2 separate regions of the Homo sapiens genome follow, and region 1 is linked to region 2. Evidence: promoter capture Hi-C in 16 types of primary human blood cells and fetal thymus (Javierre and others, 2016). All regions are on one chromosome and are shown on one strand. The core of a region is centred on a gene start or on the middle of the fragment in contact, and the rest is flanking DNA. Distances in the headings are between cores, read along the strand shown.

Region 1 (3,957 bases), core at 1,063-3,562, 240 kb before region 2:
ACTCAGGAGGCTGAGGTGGGAGGATCATTTGAGCTCAGGACTTCAAGGCTGCAGTGAGCTAGGATCATGCCACTGCCCTCCAGCCTGAGTGACAGAGTGAGACCCTGTCTGTATACAAAACAAAAAAGGCTGATATCTTAGAAGCACAGAGACTGGAGAAGGGAGCACAGGGAGAGGTTCGTCGACAGTACAAAATAACAATTAGATGGGAGGAATAAGTTCTGGTGTTCTGTGCACAGTGGGATGATGATGGTTAACAGTAAGATATTGCATATTACTGTTAAAATAGCTAGAAGAGGCCTGTCATCCCAGCACTTTGGGAGGCCGAGGTGGGCGGATCACCTGAAGTCAGGAGTTCAAGACCAGCCTGGCAAACATAATGAAACCCCATCTCTACTAAAAATACAAAATTAGCCGGGTGTGGTGGCGGGCACCTGTAGTCCCAGCTACTCTGGAGGCCAAGGCAGGAGAATCGCTTGAACCCAGGAGACGGAGGTTGCAGTGAGCTGAGATCGCACCACTACACTCCAGCCTGGGGGCAAGAGAGCAAGACTCCATCTCAAAAAATAAAAAATAAAAAATAAAATAAAATAGCTAGAAGAGAGGTATTTGCATGTTCGCATTGTCAAGAAATGATACTTGCATGAGGTGATAGGTACACTAACTACCGTGATTGGGTCATTGTGCAACGTGATATGAATTGGCACCATAAATATGCATGATTACAATGTATCAAGAAAAAACAAATAAAGCCAAGAAAATAATCTAAAACTCCAGGTTTCCTCAATATTTCTTTATAAGAAAAATCCTTGAATAGATTAAATTGTTTTATTCTTCATTTAAGAAATAGCTGTATGTCTTTGTCTTCTCTCCAGTTTTATCACAGTACGAAGTATGTAAAAGTGACAATGGGAACACTGTGCTTTGGTTTTTGCAAGATTTGAGATGTATCCATTATGATTTTCTCATGAGAAATTTTATTATGTTGACCTTTCTAAACCCATAATACTTACCTTGCAGATCACGTACGTCAGCATTTCTTACACTAAATATCTAAGGTTTTGTAAATGTAAACACGAGTTGAGCTAAACTGAGTTATAATAATGAATATCTGTATTTTTAAAATCAACCTTTTAAACTTCCAACAATAGCAGTAATTGTGTAGCCCTACAAAGTTACTCCACCTTGTAAACGGAATAAATTGTAGTGTCATATTTGTCAAATTTTATTCATGAAGTGTGATCATATTGTGCTACTATCATTTCTTTTTTTCTTTTTTTTTCTTTTTTTTTTTTTTTGAGATGGAGTCTTGCTCTGTTGCCAGGCTGGAGTGCAGTGGCATGATCTTGGCCAACTGTAACCTCCGCCTCCTGGGTTCAAGCGATTCTCCTGCCTCAGCCTGTCGAGTAGGTGAGATTACAGGCGTGCGCCACCACACCCAGCTAATTTTTGTATTTTTAGTAGAGACAGGGTTTCACCATGTTGGCCAGGCTGGTCTTGAACTCCTGACCTCGTGATCCGCTCACCTGGCCTCCCAAAGTGCTGGGATTACAGGTGTGAGCCAACACGCCCAGGCAGCCTAGTATAATTTCTAAGATTCCCTCATCTACTGACTTTGATACCTGGGGTAGACAATAAATTGAGGTAATTAGCAAGTATATTTACCTGGATAATCTCCAAAGGAATGAAAATTCATAAAGACAAAATGCAAACACACACAGTTATTTCTGACATATATGTATTCTAGTCTATGCATAAACACAATGGTGCCACACAACACTCATAAATCAGAAAATCACTGTAGTCTAAACATTGTTTTGTGCTATGCCTGAATTTTTACTTATTTTTTTTTTAGAGACCGAGTCTCACTCTGTCACCCAGGCTGGAGTGCACTGGTGCAATCCTAGCTCACTGTGGCCTCAAACTCCTGAGCTCAAGTGATCCTCCCACCTCAGCCTCCCAAGTAGCTGGGATCACATGCGGGTGCCACTACACCCTGCTAATTTTTGCATTTTTACTTTTTGTAGAGATGGGGCCTTGCTGTGTTGCCCAGCCTACTCTCGAACACCTGGCCTCCAAGCAATCCTCCCATCTTGGCCTCCCAAAGTGCTGGGATTACAGGCATGAGCCCCCACGCCCAACCTATGCCTGATTTTTAAATTTTTACTATAAAACCTAAACTTTTAAAGCAGTAAATAATACCACTACCTGAACATCTGTGTGTGTGTGTGTGTGTGTGTGTGTGTGTGTGAGATGGAGTCTCACTCTGTTGCCCAGGCTGGAGTGCAGCGGCGTGATCTCGGCTCCCTGCAACCTCTGTCTCTCAGGTTCAAGCAGTTCTCCTGCCTCAGGCTCCCAAGTAGCTGGGATTACAGGCACACACCACCATGCCTGGCTAATTTCTGTATTTTTAGTAGAGATGGGGTTTCACCATGTTGACCAGGCTGGCCTCAAACTTCTGACCTCAGGTGATCTGTCTGCCTCAGCCTCCCAAAGTGCTGGGATTATAGGCATGAGCCACCATGCCTGGCCGTGAACATCTTTTACTGTGACTGCATATAAGTGTATGTTTACATAAACATACATAGAGGTGTATTACATCAATGAATGTTTTTTAAAGTTTCTGTATGATGGAGTGCAGAGGCCTGGGCGCAAGGGAGTAAAGGGTCTTTAAGTAATCAATATATTTTCAACCTCAAGTATCCTATCTAGAGCCAGAGGTTTTTTTTCTCACCCTACTAGGAGCTCACAGCACTGCAAATCTGTTAACAGAGGTGCTTTTATGCTGCCCCTTGGCATGGTTATTTCATAACTGCAGCCAATTATAAGAGAACAAGCAATCGAACAGAACAAAGAGCAAAGGCTCTTCCTTTGTGGAGGAGCTAAAATTCCCACTGCTTACCATGTTACCTTCTCCTGTGTGTTGTTATCAAATATTGGGACTCTGGTTACACTGTCAAGGCCATGGGCCTTTCTTGTTCTAGGGCAGCTGTGCTCCTCTCTTAAGCAACTGACCCGTGTCTCCTGGCAACTCTCTTTGGTACTGGACTTCTCCAAGATCAGTCCTCAAATTAATAACAACACTGACAAGGGTCTTCGGACCACCGTGTTTGGTACCTGGCTGCTTGGGACCATCCAGGTTTGCCCCTTTGCCTGGCTTGGGTAACCCACTGTATGGTGCACACGAATAAAGGCTGATGCCGAGAAGAATGAGGCTTGTAGTTACGAAAAGTGACTCAATGGAATTAAAAAATCTACCCTGCAGCCTGGGAGCAGTGGTTCACACCTGTAATCCCAGTGCTTTGGGAGGCCAAGGCAGGAGAGTCGCTTGAAGCTAGGAGTTGGAGACCAGCCTGGGCTATATAGCGAGACCCTGTCTCTACAGAAAAAATACAAAAATTAGCTGGGCATGGTGGTGTGTGGCTGTAGTCCCAGGTACCTCGAGAGGCTGAGGCAGGAGGATCGCTGGAGCCCAGGAGGTCGAGACTGCAGTGAGTTGTGATCGTGCCACTACTGCAGCCTGGGTCACAGAGCAAGATCCTGTCTCAAAACAAACAAACAAACAAACAAACAAACAAAAACTATCCTGTAAATGTATAAAAATGTCACTAATTTCAATGTGTTTCGGTAAAAAGGAATGAAGTACCGATACATGCTGAAATTCAGATAGATCCTCAAAAGCATTTTGCTCAGTGAAAGAAGCCACACATGAAAAGTCACATATCAGATGAGCCACTTTATGTGAAATATCCAGAATAGAGGAATTCATAGACACAGACAGCAGATTAGCGGGTGCCAGGGGCTGAGGGATTAGGGGATGGGGAGTGGCCACGTAATGGACACGGGGTTTCTGTACGGCATGATGAAATATTCTGAAAGTACATAGTGGTGATGGTGGCACAACGTGCATTAGTAAATGCACTAAATGTCACTACACTGTACACTTTCAGATGACTA
Region 2 (3,853 bases), core at 954-3,453:
GCTTCAGGTGTGGTGGCAGGTGCAGAGGAGGCCTGAGGACAGGGATCAGGGGCCTGGGGGGTTGTGTCCCCAGAGCTGTGGGGGCTCTTCACTCAAAATTTTCTGGTAGATAACTCTGGAGATGGTGCAGTGGCTGCTGTGCCGAGATGTAGACTGGGACCAGGGGACGGCTGGGGACGCTCACTGCTACTATCTTCAGTCAGAAGCCAGCCTGCCTATGGCTTCCTCCCCATTGTGCACTCCCCTCCCTCTCAGTCCTCGGTACCTCCCCTCTCCAGAATGTTTCCTCCTCTGAGTGTTTTTTTTTTTTTTCTAGGAAGGCAGGTATCTGTCCCTCCTGTTCAATTCTAGTAATAATTAATTTATCTGCTAAAGACCAGTGAGAGATGGAGGCCCTGGGTTGGCCAGCACGTCATGCCCAAATATGGTTGACTCTCCTGTAGCCCTGGGTGTCTACATGACACGTGGTGGGGCTGTGATCCGCCCAGCACATTCACTTCGGGGCAGCCTGTGGCCCCACTGGTTTTTCCCACTAGTAGTGGTGTTAGGGGGTGCAAATGGCATTTTCCAGTACTGAGGCCAACCCCTGTATATTGTCCCCTCTCCTGACCACTTTGAGACACACCTGCACCAAGTGCGCCTGGGCGTCTGGGAGCTGGGGTGGAGGTGGGAGGGAGGGCTGGGAAGGGGGAACCCATACAGACCCCTCCCTGCACGGGCCCCATTCAAGACGGGCTTGAAGTTGTCCTTCTGGTCCCCCTGCCCCACTGGAAAGCAAGTTCCCAGGCACGGAATTCCATCAATAATTGACTCTCTCTCCACTAAGGGCCATTGAGCTGGGTTGTCTGGGTTCATTCCTTAATCTTCAGAGCTCAGGGAAACTGAGTCAGAGTGACCAGTGGTCAATTCCAGCAGAAAGAGTGTCAGGAGGTGGGTGCCGTGTCTTCCAGCCCTAGCTTTTCCCTATTTAGAGGAAACAAGGAATGGGCGTGTAGAGGGTTCTTGTCCCTAGAACATAGTATCAACCGCCAGATGTCGCCCGATCCCAAAGCCACCAGATCGGGCAGTCCTGGGAAGCCAAAATCCAGCTCTTTCATATTTTCCCTTATTTGGAGTAGATTCTTGGATGTTAGGCACACCCCGCCCACCACACCACCCCTGGCCCTCAGACCCCAGGCCAGACCCTCCCACTGGGAGGTATAGCCCAAGCCCAGGAGCTGTTCAGCTGGGATCCCTAAGGAGCTGTTTCCAGGCCTGCGTAGCCAGGGGGCGCAGGAGGGAAGGAAGCCGCAGACTGGCAAGGTGAGAAGAGACCTGTGCTGGCAAGTCCAGGTGCGGCAGGTGAGGTCGCCCATTCCCAAGCTCCCACCTTGACGGTGCACTCGGAGCACTTACAAATGGGTCTGCCAGTGGATTTTAACCTATTTTGCCTGGCCCCAGGTGGCACGGGAATCTGGGGACATTGTTGGTTATATCCTGGCTGGCAGTGCGCATCCAACTCAGAGCCAACCTGGCATAGGGCCCAGGGCCCAACCAAGGAACCTGGCCTGGTCTCATCCTCACCATGGCCCCCATGGAGTAGAGCAGCCCCAGAACCAGCTCCCCTGTGCCCAAAGCAGCTGGTGCCCTGTGGACTCGAGCCAGCAAGGGACACGCTGTCCCCCTCCCAGTGGGCACACTGGCTGAGAAGTGTCCTTCCAGGTGGCCACTCGCCCTGAGTCCACACAAGTTCCTGGTGTCAGGGCCCTTCTCTCTCAGGCATGCAGTGGTCCGTTCATGGGCAAGTGCCCAGACACCCTCTCTCTCTCGGGGACCCCCCATGGCCTCAGGCTCCCACATTCGTGGGCACAGACATGGCTCGTGGGTCAACTAGGGAAGCTATTCTCTGGACACTCACTCCCAGATGCCAGGGGAGCCTCCATCGGCTCACGCATCCCAGCTGAACCTGGCCCGGACCTGGGCGCGAGCTGGCGCCTGCGTTTTCCGGCCTCTCTGCCCGCCTTCTCCAACCCCGCCCCCGGCCGACGAGGAGCGCGGCGACCCTACGGCGCGAAGCCGGGCCGCGGAGACCTCACCTGCTGTTCCTGAGAGCGACCGGTGACCGATGACCGCGGGGTGGCGCCCGGATCGCCTTCGCGCCCGCGCCCGCGCCAGGCGCCTCGGGGATTCTGTCGGCGTCCGCTGCGCGCGACGCGCCTCCACGCGAATGGGCCGCCGCCGCCCGCCTTCTTGTTGGCCGCACCCCCGCCCCGCGCCCGCCCCGCGCCCGGCCCGGCCCGGCGAGAAAGCCTTAATTGGTAAAATTGCCCAGGAGCCCGGGACGGGTGCGTGGGGGGCGGGGGTGCGGGGGCACGCCGTGAGCTCCAGCGACCCGCCGCCGGGCGACGCCGCCCCCCGAGATGAGCTCACCGCCGGCGAGGGCCGCCAGGCCCTGGGGGAGGGAGGGCTTCGTGGGGGAGTCGCCTCCAGCGCCCACAGGGACTGCAGGGCTCGTGTCTAGGCCCAATCACAAGGATCCTGCGTGTCTGAGTCTGGGGGAGCCAAGCGCACCCCAGGTGGAAAGGCCGAGGCCCAAGGCCACCTTCTCCAAGGAGCCACCCACAGTCACAGCCCCTGGTGTCTGTCCCAAGCCGGGATTGTTTCCTGGGGTGGGGGCAACAGGTCGTTGCAGGTGTTGGCTGGGCGCCTACGTCAGGCAGGGCCCCGGGACGGGACTGCAGGGCTCCGAGCCCTGGGATGAACCTGACTGCCATGGATCAGGCGCTGCCAGGTCTGGCCTGGGGTGGGCAGCAGAAACAGGATCGCTCAGGGGGACGAGAAAGTTAAGTTTGTTTAGTATTAAGAAGATTCTGATCTTAAAGAAAACATTGGCCGGGCATGGTGGCTCATGCCTATAATCCTAGCACTGTGGGAAGCTGAGGCAGGTGGATTAATTGAGCCCGGGAGTTTGAGACCAACCTGGGCAACACAGCAAGACACTATCTCTACCAAAAATATAAAAATTAGCTGGGCGTGGTGACGTGCACCGGTAGTCTCAGCTGCTCAGGAGACAGATGGGAGGATCGTTTAAGCCCGGGAGTTTGAGGCTGCAGTGAGCTATAATTTCACCACTACACTCCAGCCTGGGTCACACAGTGAAACCCTGTCACTAAACATAAAAAAAAAGGCCAGGTGCGGTGGTTCATGCCTGTAATCCCAGCACTTTGGGAGGCCGAAGTGGGTGGATCACGAGGTCAGGAGTTCAAGAACAGCCTGGCCAAGATGGTGAAACCCCGTCTCTACTAAAAATATAAAAACTAGCCGGGCGCAGTGGCAGGCGCCTGTAATCCCAGCTACTCGGGAGGCTGAGGCGGGAAAATCGCGTGAACCCGGGCGGCAGAGGTTGCAGTGAGCCGAGATCACGTCACTGCACTCCAACCTGGGTGATAGAGACTCCGTCTCAAAAAAAAAAAAAAAAAAAAAAAAAAAGGCCGGGCGTGGTGGATCCCAGCACTTTGGGAGGCTGAGGCAGGTGGATCACGAGGTCAGGAGTTTGAGACCAGCCTGGTCAACACAGTGAAACCCGGTCTCTACTAAAAATACAAAAATTAGCTGGGCGTGGTGGCAGGCGCCTGTAATCCCAGCTACTCGGGAGGCTGAGACAGGAGAATCGCGTGAACCTGGGAGGCGGAGGTTGCAGTGAGCTGAGATTGCGCCACTGCACTCCAGCCTGGGTGATAGAGCTAGACTGTGTCTTGGAAAAAAATAATAAATATAAAAATAAAAATACAAATAAAAAAATAACGTTAACAGCTCAGTGAACAATCATCTACTTGTCATAGACACTGAGGAATGTTTCCATGTTGATATTTTT

The links. Contacts are between HindIII fragments. The CHiCAGO score rates a contact against its expected background, and 5 or more counts as called.
Region 1: a contact is called between a fragment that was not itself captured here and the fragment with the promoter of FLNA in region 2, in 2 of 17 cell types (total B cells and naive CD4 T cells). The highest score is 5.2, in total B cells.

Annotation. Positions count from the first base shown.
Region 1 is chrX:154,129,200-154,133,156 of GRCh38, forward strand. No RefSeq gene overlaps it. Among named protein-coding and RNA genes, the nearest start is that of OPN1LW, 13 kb to the right of the region's middle. The HindIII fragment of the contact is 8,995 bases long and covers 1-3,957 here.
Region 2 is chrX:154,372,431-154,376,283 of GRCh38, forward strand. FLNA (filamin A) reads right to left here and starts at 2,204. Exons shown (of 48, transcript NM_001110556.2): 1 at 2,076-2,204. RefSeq lists silencers at 479-538, 2,081-2,140, 2,151-2,290 and an enhancer at 942-991. The HindIII fragment of the contact is 17,250 bases long and covers 1-3,853 here.